Regions from separate parts of the Homo sapiens genome. Here region 1 is linked to region 2. Evidence: promoter capture Hi-C in 16 types of primary human blood cells and fetal thymus (Javierre and others, 2016). All regions are on one chromosome and are shown on one strand. The core of a region is centred on a gene start or on the middle of the fragment in contact, and the rest is flanking DNA. Distances in the headings are between cores, read along the strand shown. Region 1 has its middle 13 kb from the start of LIRIL2R. Region 2 holds the start of FOXF2 (forkhead box F2).

Region 1 (5,748 bases), core at 1,241-3,740, 1.2 Mb after region 2:
TCACGTTGGAAGAATCTACCGCATTATAGATAACATTTTATTGCAAGTAAATGTATTTCAAAATTTGTTACTGGTTTTATAATAAAATAGTGTCAGCCTACTTCATTATCAAGCTGTACTATTTTATTTATGCAGTTTGATGAACTTACAGCAGAGCTGGAAACTATATCTTCAAAAATGTCTATATTTGGCTAAAAAGAATCAAGTTATTCAACAGGAGTTATTATCTATGAAAGAAGTACAACAGAAATGTAAAAAACTTGAGGAGGTTAACAAAATTTTGGAACAAGAAGTAGTGAATCTTAAGACACATGAAAAAAATATGGTAGAATTTGGTGACGTAGAAGAATGTAAATTGCAGTTGGAAGAAAGAGCAGGACAGGAAATAGAAAAATTAGAAGAAATCAATTTACAGGTTAGTTTTTTTAATCAGGTAGGTTTATCTGTAATGTGCTTTCATTTATTTCACTGCAAATTATAATATAGACATACAGTGTTTTGTCTGCCTCTCTTATAGGAATTTGCTTTGTAGAGTTTTAGAAAAAAAGGTGGCACCTGTTTCTTATTTTAAATATTTAAATTTCCATCATGATTATAACTAAGTTGATCTTTCAGAGTAGTGAGTTTCACTATACAGTCATTTGGTTATTAAAACCAGTTAGCATAAGACTATTAGAAAAAGAAAACTCTGATTTAAAATTATATGGTACTTTTGAATTGGTCTTACGCTACATTGTTCAGTTTTTAACATTTCCAATGGATTCTATTATTTTTAAATGATTAGATTACATGAACACTAACAAGAATGATTTCAAATTTTTATAATTCATATTTAATTCTGAATTCTGTTATCAATTTAGATGAAATTGCTAATAGATGTTTTAAACTTCAGCCCCTTTTTAAAACACATATTTAAAATTGCTTTCTGAATCACTGACTCAAAATGAAAGGCAACAAATAGAGACTAATTAGGTTATAATTGTTTTAAAAGTATGATTTTTTATTTGTTTTAGAAACAAGCAGAATATGAAAAACACAGCAGTTAAAAGAGAATAATATGGCTTTGATGAATAAAAGAGAACTCTGACTGAAAGACGTGGAATGTCAATTCTCCAAAATGAAAACCGCTTATGAAGAGCTTACTACGGAATTAGAAGAATATAAGGAAGTCTTTGCAATAACATTAAAAGCTAACAAATCCATGTCAAAAAATTTAAAGAAATAAGTCAAAACATACACTTGTAGAAAATCAATCAAGTTCATTAATTTGCCATGAAAGCATAATTTTTAGTGAGACAACTTCATGAGATTAGTAGGAAGTGAAAGCTATCCTGATAGTATAATTTTTGAAAATAATGCTAGTAAATAAACTTACATTTAAAATGTTAGTCAAGGACAGTTTCTGTCTCTTCCCTCATTTTTTTTTTAACTTTTGTATGGCCTTTTCCCCTGAAAAATCTTACGTAGTTAACCTAGTCTATTAGTCTTTTAGCATTTTTGAAGCTTTATGGTCAATAAAGTGATCTTGCTGTAAAATTACTTTTCAGAATTCTTCTAAATGGAAATATTAATGAATTTAATTTGTTTTTTAGTAGGTCACAATCTAAACTCAAAGTGCCCAAACTACTACTATTCTGGGCACGTCCTGGCATTTAGTAACTTAACTTTCCTGATTGTGATTTTTAGTATTATCACTAGAGGGCGCTTTGAGACAAACTTTTCTGTATAGTTTTTTCAGTCTACAGGAAGACATGCTTGTGAAATAGGGAATGATTATCCTAGGGATGAAAGAAAGTGTAATTTACAAAGTTGTTTAAAAATAACACCTTGGTCAGCCTGAAGGGGTGTGTGGAAGACAGAAAGGGCAAGCCCCACCTCCAGTGCCTTGGTCACAATGCTAAGGGCTGATTGCCTTCAGAGATGCTTTAGTTCTTTTTGATCACCAATCCAACCATCTAGTTCTCTCCTAGGAGTTCTTGCTCTGAATTATTTCTCAGTGTGAAATGCTTATTTTTTCCTAGATAATGGGTGAAATGTACAAGGGTGGTGAAAACAAATGTTTGAAAATATATTTAGGAGTGATTTCTAAAATCCTGAAACTGGTTTCTAAATACAAGTATTTCTAGCTTCTGTTTTTGTTTGTTTTTGTTTTTGTTTTAGTTTTCTTAATTGTATATTATTTAAGGCATACAACACGTTACTATATGTTTATTCATAGTGAAGTTGTTCTTATAGTCAAGCAAATTAACATATCATCTCACATAGTTACCTTTAAATACAAGTATTTCTTTTTTTTTTTTTAATTTTCCCGAGATGGAGTCTTGCTTTGTTGCCCAGGCTGGCGTGCAGTGGCGCAATCTCAGCTCACTGCAACCTCCGCCTCCCAGGTTCAAGCAATTCTTCTGCCTCAGCCTCCCAAGTAGCTAGGATTACAGGCGCCCACCACTGCACCTGGCTAATTTTTGTATTTTTAGTAGAGGCAGGTTCTCACCATGTTGGCCAGGCTGGTCTCGAACTCCTGACCCGGTGATCTGCCCGCCTCAGCCTCCCAAAGTGCTGGGATTACAGATATGAGCCACTGTGCCCAGCCTGAATACAAGTATTTCTAATGGCATCCTCAGAATCTTATAAGTACAGCCTTCTAGAAGGTAGCAAGCATTACCTATTGAGCCGTACATCGATAGCCATTTCTCTCTCCTTCCTACTTTGTTTGAATTACTTATTCACTAGAAATCTTCTTAGAAACATATGTGATTTTTTAAGAACGATTTTAAAATTATACTTGCTTATAACAGGTATGCTCTCACACATTTGGTGTTAAAACAGTTTAGTGGGTAATTTTGTTTGCTGTCAGGGCAATTTTTTAAAAATTGCAAATCATTTAGGAATCATTTAAGGAAAAATAAAATACTAGGCATTTGTTTTTTGCTATCTGTACAGATCAAATGAGATAATAGCAATGGTCAGCAGCAAGCTCCATATAGAGAAAGAGCAAATGAAATCTGTTCCCACCACTCTGCCTATGAGGCCAGACCCAGAGCCACCCTGGGTTGGAAATCTTAATAGTATAGGTCACAACAGAAAATATATTCCAAAACACCCATAAGGATCCCTACTTCAAGCCCATAGACTTCGAATAACAGCATGAACTGCTTGACTGAGGTTAGTTATATTACCTTTTCCCTTTTGGGTTTTGTTTTTCTAATATACTTCTTGTTTTTAATTTGGTGAAATACTGAGTCGTTCAATTGACTTATGCTTGTTAAGTGAAGGTCATAATTAGCTAATGCAGAAAGCAAATGGGAACTTTACGGTTTTTATAAGTCCTGGGAGCTCTCATTTTCAAGAGATACTTATTTGTTAACTTGATTCAATAAATGTAACTAAACTGACACATTTTAAATTGATTGAAAAACTGCATTTAAGTTAGGTTTTAGAAATTGCATGTTATTGCCTAATAACTAAAGGTAAGCTTTTTTTTTTTTTTTTGAGACAGAGTCTCACTCTGTCGCCCAGGCTGGAGTGTGGTGATGCAACCTCGGCTCACAGTGGTGCGATCTCGGCTCACTGCAACCTCTGCCTGCTGCATTCAAGCAATTCTCCTGCGTCAGCCTCCCAAGTAGCTGAGACTACAGGTGTGTGCCACCATGCTCGGCTAATTTTTTGTATTTTTAGTAGAGACGAAGTTTCACCATGCTGGTCAGGCTGGTCGCGAACTCCTGACCTCGTGATCCCCCTGCTTCAGCCTCCCAAAGTGCTGGGATTACAGGAATGAGCCACCGCGCTCAGCCACTTTGGCTTACTTTCTGATTGATTGTAGTTTTGGCTGCGGTTCATACCACTTTTAAAGTTTCTTTGCACTATCTCAAGTTTTCCATCCCTAATCACAGGGAAGCGGTGGGCATCCAAGCACTTAACCACATACGGATGTTTATTATTTAATGGAATCCAAAATAAACATCAAACACTAAAATATTTCTTTCCATTTTTATGTTAAAAGCTTTGTGGTTTTCTTTCTTTTTTTTTTTTTTTTTTGAGATGGAGTCTCCCTCTGTTGCCCAGGCTGGAGTGCAGTGAAGTGATCTTGGCTCACTGCAAGCTCCGCCTCCTGGGTTCACGCTATTCTCCTGCTGCAGCCTCCGGAGTAGCTGGGACTACAGGTGCCTGCCACCATGCCCGGCTAACTTTTTTGTATTTTTAGTAGAGACGGGGTTTCACCGTGTTAGCCAGTATGGTCTCAACCTCCTGACCTCGTGATCCTCCTGTCTTGGCCTCCCAAAGTGCTGGGATTACAGGTGTGAGCCACCTCGCCCGGCCCAAGCTTTGTGGTTTTCTTACATAAGAATACATTCTTTATTGCTATCAGACTTAACAGCACTTTTATTTCAACTTTTGTAGAATGTGTCTATTGCTGAGCAATTTTACAAGTTTTTAAATTATTAAATCAAGCACTATTTGCATTTTTAAAATGAAATTCACTTATGTCTCTACCTTGCCATCACTTGTGTGATTACTAAGGTGGCAGTGATATCAAGTCTTTTAATAGCAGCTGCAGCCCAGCAGAAGCAATTATATTAATCCAATTCAGAAGTTAATGCAGAGCCACACAGCATATTTCCATCTCCCCTGGGCTTGTAATAGAAAGCTTCCAATCCAACCATGTGATTTCACTCATAGTAAGAATCCATTTCTGGGAATCCCAAAATGAATCCAACAATAACAAGCTGTGTCAGATAAGGAAAAAATATATAGTTCAACTATGTTTGACCAAGTTGAAGATATTTGTCTCATGTTTAACTGTTTTTTGACTAAGAAAAAAATTTAAGAACCAGGTCCTGTGGCCCACACCTGTAGTCCCAGCTACTCAGGAGGCTGAGGCAGGAGGATGGCTTGAGCCCAGGAGTCCAGGGCTGTAGTGCCTCATGACTGTGCCTGTGAATAGCCACTGCACTCCAGCCCAGGCAACACAGTGAAACTGTCTCTTAAAGAAAAAAATTACAAACACCATAAAACAATGGTTTGAACAAAAATAAATAAATAGCAACCAGTTTTGCATATCATTGATATTAAAATATTCATTTCAATCAATACACATTCATTTACAATTTCCTTGGTGATTTCATAATCTCCTTAATGCAGAGAAAGGTAGCAAGTGGATGGGGCCAGCCTAAGGCACAGTGGAGGAAAAGGTGGTAAACTGCTGAGAGGTGTAGCAACTGTGAAATGGTAGCACAAGTCAGGCTTCTTGACCCAAACCTGGCTGGACCTGGGGAAGAAGTCAGACTGTTTGAGTTTGATCAGTCATACTGACGCATCCTTAATCAAACATAATTTCTGCAGCAAAATATATGGATATTTATAGTAACAGAATTAGATGTTATGAAGAGCCTTAGGTCAGTCCAGGTTTTGCTGCCAAAGAGTTTGTTGCAAAGTTTTAAAAGAAAGTTCAGTTTTTAAACCATATTTGGCTTTTGGAATTGCAGGTGAGGGGTTGTGGACCTGAAATTATAGTTAACACTTGGGAATCCAGGCCTGTTGTGTCTGCTTTACACACATTGGCTCTTACTGTTTTCACAATGCAATGAGGGTAGGTACCATGATGATCCCATTTTACAGGTGAAAGACAAGGGCACCAGGAAGTCTCTTTGGTAAGTGACTTTACAAAATCACACAGCTCGTCACTGGTGGCTCCATATTACACATTTTTCCTGGGCTACAGACTTGTGAAAGGGGGTCGGGAGAGATTGA
Region 2 (6,229 bases), core at 3,550-6,049:
AGGTACCGGACAACTAGACCCAGACTCTGGTTCCGGGTCTCTCCCGGCAGAGCTCCTGGCCTGTGCTGCCCTGAGCCCTGGCTTCAGGGAGGGCCAAGCACCCTACCCCAGAAACACCACTGCGGCCTTCTTTCTGAGCCTTGTTTCCCAACTAACTGGGCCGGTCACAGCAGCGAGCGCAGAGGACTCCCTGTGCCAAAGGGGACGATAGAAAACAACCCAATCGCAAGATGAAGGGATGGGGCAGAAAAGCACGCCTCTTCTCCTGCCCCTCCGCAGGCATCTTCGTGGGTCCCGAACGTCTTAGACTTCCTCTAGAGAAGCCGGGACTTCAGGGCGCAGAGAAATGCCCTTTGGTCCGAAGCATCTGGCAGCGCGAGGAGTCCCTGAGGTAGCCCCAGGCTGGAGGGGGACAGAGAAGGCCTGGACCCTGCTCTCCCGGGGCGGCTCCCCGGTCCCCGGCCTGCACCGGGCCGCTTGACCTCCACCCGCCGCCGGCTTTTGCTTTTGCTTTCTCGGCGCCTCCTGGCCCCGGGGCGCAATCGGCCCGCAGTGCCCTGCGCACTGGGCCCCAGAGGCTGCTGGACCGGGCCCTCTCGGCACCGGGCTGCGTTAGGTCCATTCGCCCGGGTCTTTTCTTAGTTAACCGAGTGGTGTGGGGACCATAAAGTGCACGTCGCTTCGGGCCGGATTCAGTTTTTCAGTGCAAGAAAACCGTAACCACGGCCCGCCGGGCTCGGGCCCTGCTCTCGTGGCCTCAGCCCCGCCGTGTCCCCGCAATGCCGGAGCGAGGCGGCTGCTCAGGGGCCGCTGCCTACTTCCTTGCCCGCAACACCTACCCGAACACACCCGGCGCTGCGCTAACGCAGCTGCCCTGTCCCGCGAGCCCCGATGTGTGCGCGGCGCTCTGCACACAGGTGAGTTCCCTCGTCGCGTTAAAGCAAGTTCTGATGGCAAGTCCTGGACCACAAAATAGCAGGCTCGGGAGGAGAGAGGGCGAGCGCTCACACCTGCCCACGAAGGCGGCCGTCGGCGCTTTGATGTGCTGAGCGGGATGACAGAAGCCCGAGCTCCTTCCTGAAGTGCTCGCAGGGCTTAATGGAGAACTCCAGGGCAGCCCCTGCGCCGGCAGGGGCACATGGACCATGGCCACCAGGCCCAGGAGCGGAGGGCGCGGCCCTTGGGGTGTGCTGGGGGAGGGAGGGTCGTGCTGGGTGTGTGCGCGTAGACATGTGCTGATCTGTGTGCCGGGGAGACTGCCTTGGCCACCCCCGCGCCTCGCCGGGCCCCCAGGCCTCAGTGGGCGGCGCGCTCCCAACTAGGCCCCGCGGGGTCCCGGTGCATCCGGCCGGCTCCTCCGAAGCCTCCACCGCTGGCGCTCCAGGGAGATGGCAACAGGGCCGGGTGGGTATCCTATAGGGACGGGAGCAAGACAGCGAGGAAGGAAGGGCAGAGGGTCCCTGTCGGGCGTCAGGCCCGAGCTATTGTCTCCCCCGGGCGTTCCCAGACTCGGTCGGGGGTTCTGCGAGGCTCCCAGGGAAGGCCGGCCGCGGGAGGCCGCTGGGTAGGGGCACAGAGGCCGGCTTGCTTTGCTGGGCAGTTTTCACCCCCTCCAAGACAGTAATGTATCCAGATTCCGAAGTTTTGGGAGCTTGTGCCTGCGCCCAGTGTTATGAGGTGGGGCGAGAGCAGCCTTGAGGAAGGGTCAGGAGTCTCTTTCCTGTGTGCTTTTTTTTCTTCCTAGAGTACGGTTTCTCCAAGGCTGCTAAGCCTCAGAGTCCGGGTTCAAGTTGAGTGGATCTGCCGGGAGAGGAGAAGAAGGGGAGCAGGGAGGGCAGCTGGCAGGCTGGGAGAGGAGCAGGCAGGCGGGGAAGGGAAGGGGCCAGTGCACCGAGGGGTGTGTGTGTGTGTGTGTGTGTGTGTGTGTGTGTGTGTGTGTGATTGACAGCCGGTCCAAGGGAATACAAAAATAAGAGGGGAAGGCCGCCTGTATTGGTTACTTGTTGAAATTCCCATAAAATTGAACAAGACTCTGTTCTCAGTGGGTTAAGTCAGGCTAAAATCCTCTCCGGTGTGGTCCTGCCGAGACTGTCTTTGTTTGGTTAACCTCTGAGACCCACATTTAAAAGGCCTATTTGGGAAATTTCACCGTCCAGGGAACCAACATCTTTTGCCCATTTCTGGGCTTTCCTTCTCCCCGGGTGCTCCCGCTGCACACCGGCTCAGGAACACATAAAGCATGCATCACCCTCCAAGCCACTGTCTCATTGCTGTGGGAGGCCAGTGTGAGAGAGTAGCTTGGGGCCTTGCCTTTGACTGGCAGGCCCATGGGATTTTAATCTGCAGCCCTAGGTGCTCCGAGCGAGGGGTTAATGTAAGGGTTTATCTCTGTTCTTCACATTAACCTGGTCAAATATTCAAATTCCCTCTTCCATCCCTACCGTCCCCTCCCACCTTTCACCGCCTTCAGCAAGTCAATAATTTTTCATAATCTGCAACCAGAACAATGTAAACCAGCCACACTACAAGTGGCATCCACAGGGCAGGCGCATTTCTCAGGGGAGTCCTAGCAGGGTCCTTCAGGTCCTGCCACCCAGGACCTGTATCATCAATGTGGGTCCATTGTTGGGCGGGGGGGGAGGCAGGGAAGGGGAGGAGTCTCCAACAGTTTGGTGACCCCCTCCACTGGCAAATGTCCCTTTAGTGAAAGATCCTGGGATCCAGCTCTGTCCCTCCCACCCCCTCCTCTTAACACTTGCCCAGCTGCAAACATCTCGCTGCAGACACCCCAACATACAGAACATATCTGATTCTGACATTTACTTCGGGACAGAAGTACAGCAAAATGAACGCAAGGAAAAAAAGGGACAAAAGGAACTAGACACAGCTTCCTGACCAAGTTCCCCAAAGGCCAGATGCCTTCTCTCCAAGCTAAGTGAGACTCTGAACGGGAGACCTGCAGTCTCCTGCACAGGGATCCCCAAAGAGCCCAGGAAGGCAGGGGACTTTACACCACGCTCACAGCAGCCAGACAATTCTGAAGCTTCGGCTGCTGGCCAGGGATACTGGGAGGACAGTAAGACCCTGATCCCTGCTCCCACGAATAAGATGCCGGCTTTCCCCAGCATCTGCTTTTCCCAGTGCCCTCAGACCTCCTAGCTTCGGGGTCCCTGTTTGTGGGAGTGGCAGTGGCCGCCAGCCCTGGAGGCCTAGAAGCGGTGCGCCCAGCTGGCTGGGCTGGAGCGTGCTGCGTTACCTGAGAGGTCCTCGCGAGCGTTCTGGTGCAAGTAGCTCTGCTCCAGCGAGTAGGAGGACATGCTGGAGTGCAGGCCTGCCGAGGCGGCGGGGTTGCTGCTGGGCGTCAGGGCAGGCGGCTGCTTGAGGTAAGGCGAGGCGCCAGGCGAGCTCCAGTGCGCCGCAGGGCTCGTGTAGGGCGAGTGGCATTCGATGGCGCTCGCCATGGCCGGGGACGAGGGTACCGGGCTGCTGCTGCTGTCCGGCCCGTAGTCGCCGCCGCCGCCGCCCCCGGCCGCACCGACGCCCCCGGGTCCCGCGGGCACCGGGCAGCTGGCCATGTAGGTGGAACCCGGGTTGGGCGACATGTGCGGGACGTGGTGGTGGTGGTGGTGGTGAGGGTGCGCGTGGCTGGGGGCGCCCGCGCCGGCGTCGTAGCCCGCGGGCATCATGTCGAGGCCGCCGTAGCCGCCCTGGCTGTGGCAGCCGAGCGGCGCCGACGGGGGCGCCTGGAAGTCGAAGCCCTGGGGCAGCAGCGACGCCCCGAAGCCCAAGCCGCTCACCACGCGGTGGTACATGGGCTTGAGCGCCTGGCACTTCCGCCTGAAGCCGCGCGGCCGGCGGCGGAACGAGCCCTCCTCGAACATGAACTCGCTGGCCGGGTCGATGGTCCAGTAGTGGCCCTTGCCGGGCCGCCCGAGGCCCTTAGGCAGCTTGATGAAGCACTCGTTGAGCGAGAGATTGTGGCGCACCGAGTTCTTCCAGCCCTGGTAGGCGCCGCGGAAGAAGGGGAAGCGCGCCTGCAGGAACTGGTAGATCTCGCTGAGCGTCAGGCGCTTGCTGGGCGAGCTCTGGATGGCCATGACGATGAGCGCGATGTACGAGTAGGGCGGCTTCTCGGGCCGCCGCAGCCCCGAGCTCGCCTTCTTGGCGCCCCCGCTCCCGGCGCCCGCGCCGCCGCCGCCCGCGCTCTTGCAGGCAGCCGAGGGGGCGCTGGCCGAATTGGAGGAGGACGAGGACGAGGCGCAGGAGGCGGAGGACGACGACGAGGAGGAGGAGGTGGTCTCCGGGGCGGCGGCGGCGGCGGCGGCGGCGGCGGGCGGCGGGCTCATCAGGGCGGCCTGGAGCGCGCCGGGGACCGGGCTGCACGCGCGGCGGAGCGGGGCCGGCGGCGGCCCGCCCTCGGTGGTCATCTGGGACCCGGGAGCGAGGCCGGGCCGCGAGGGCGGGCCCCGGGCGGGAAGCGGAGGCGCCGGAGCGGGGTCGGCCCAGAAGCCCTGCGAGCGCCCTAGCCCGCCGCCCGGGCTGCAGCCGTGGCCACTCCGGGCCAGCGCTTCGGCGTCGCCTCCCTCAGCTCCTCTGGGGCTTCTGGCGGCGGCGGCGGCGGCGGGCGGGAGGCAACGCCCGGCGCATCCCTCCCCGAGCCGCGGGCCCTGCCTTGCGCAACGGCCTCCCAGGCCGCGGGGCCGAGCGGCCGGCGCCGGGCGACTGCGCCCGCGAGTGGGACCGCGGCCTGGACCCCGGGGACGAGCCCGACGTCTCCCTTCAGGAGCGCTCCTCGCTCTGTCTCTCGGACTTCCTCCCTCCCTCGCCCTCCCCGGCCGCCCTCCTCGCTCCCTCCCTCCCTCCCTCCCCCCCCACCCCGCCCTGCCCCCTCCTCGCTCCGCGCCGCCGCGCTCACTCCTCCCCCTCCCGACCTGGCGGCCGCCTCCCTCTCTTATCTCGCTCCCCGCTCTCCAGGGTCTCCTCGCTCTTCATTCCTCTCGCGGCCTCCTCCCCTTTCCCTCACTCACCCTCTTTCCAATTGAGGGATCACAGACTCACTCCGGTTCTGCCAGGGGGACGACCCCCACCCCTCGCAAAACTCGACCACCTCTGACTTCATGAAATATTCTTTCTGTTTGCCCCCCGCAGCAAGCCCCGCGTCCCATCCCAGGACCCAGCCCCGCCCCTCCGCGCCCCCTTCCTCCTCCTGGCCCGCCGGGCCGAGTGGTGCTGCTGCGGGTGCGGCTGCTCGGAGCCTCCCTGGCCGCCCTCCCCAGGGCCGATACTGACTCCATCTGTCAACTTCGTTTAGACTTTGCCGCCCTCAGCCACACGCCGGGGTGCCAGACGCCCAAAGGTAACGTGCCAATCCTCTCTCTTTCTGGCAGGGCCTGCAGGCTCCCCGACAATTGTTAGGGCGACTGGGGGCCGCCGCAGGGTTGCGGGCCGCTGGCGATCGTGGACGTTTTCGGAACTTTGAGCAGAGGGATTTACACTGAGAAACCTAGGCCAAGTTTCAAAGACTCTGGAAACCTGGATCTCATGGGACTTAGGGTTGCATTTGCTTCCACTTCTTCCCCCCACCCCCGCACCCCAGTTAGTGTTCTGTAAGAAAAAAGTGCAAAAGAAAAAGGAAGGAAGGAAGAAAAGAAAGAAAGAGAAAGAAAAAGAAAGACCCTGAGATAAGCGAGATGGCTATATTTATAGTCAGTCCTGAAGGGGTGTGCAGCTGTCACTAGGTTTACATCCTCCGTCTTAACATTGCCCACCCAAAACTGTGCCAGGTCTCAGCTAACTCCTGTCCGAGAACACTTCTCCCCAGTTGTGGCTAATTCCTCCCTAAGTAAGAGTCAGGCTCTGAGAGAGATGTGCCCTCGGGAGCAATCACTTCCAATGAGACCCGACAGTTAGTTATTGGATTACACGTGCAGGGAAATGTAGTCCGACCAGGGATAGGAGCTGGGAGAGGGAGGAGGAGAGCAGGAGGCCGGAGCTGGCGGGGCCTCCCAAGGGCTGAAGGGGGAGGCCCAGAAAGAAGGTGCTGCAGACCAGCGGACCAAACAGGAGGTAGAGCTGGGCACCCCGCTGCGTCTAGGCTGAAAGGACCGAGGTGCACGGGTGTGCCTGCTGGGGAGCCTGGGGAGTTGCAGGAGGCAGGAGAAAGGGAGGTTGTGCAGTAATCAGGAGGAAGACACCAGGCAAAGAGCCTTCACAGCCGCACAGCCTAGGC

Evidence for each region. The method cuts DNA at HindIII sites, captures the fragments that hold promoters and counts their contacts. A CHiCAGO score of 5 or more calls a contact.
Region 1: a fragment that was not itself captured here is called in contact with the fragment with the promoter of FOXF2 in region 2 in 2 of 17 cell types (activated CD4 T cells and total B cells); the score reaches 6.9 in activated CD4 T cells.

What each region holds. Positions count from the first base shown.
Region 1 is chr6:165,019-170,766 of GRCh38, reverse strand. It overlaps the pseudogene ANKRD18FP. Among named protein-coding and RNA genes, the nearest start is that of LIRIL2R, 13 kb to the left of the region's middle. The HindIII fragment of the contact is 1,969 bases long and covers 1,506-3,474 here.
Region 2 is chr6:1,388,146-1,394,374 of GRCh38, reverse strand. FOXF2 (forkhead box F2) reads right to left here and starts at 4,799. Exons shown (of 2, transcript NM_001452.2): 1 at 3,257-4,799. The coding sequence starts at 4,427. It overlaps FOXF2-DT (FOXF2 divergent transcript), which reads left to right and starts at 4,914. Exons shown (of 3, transcript NR_187218.1): 1 at 4,914-5,356. It overlaps MIR6720 (microRNA 6720), which reads left to right and starts at 3,964; the gene lies at 3,964-4,061. RefSeq lists an enhancer at 2,752-3,617. The HindIII fragment of the contact is 4,023 bases long and covers 3,046-6,229 here.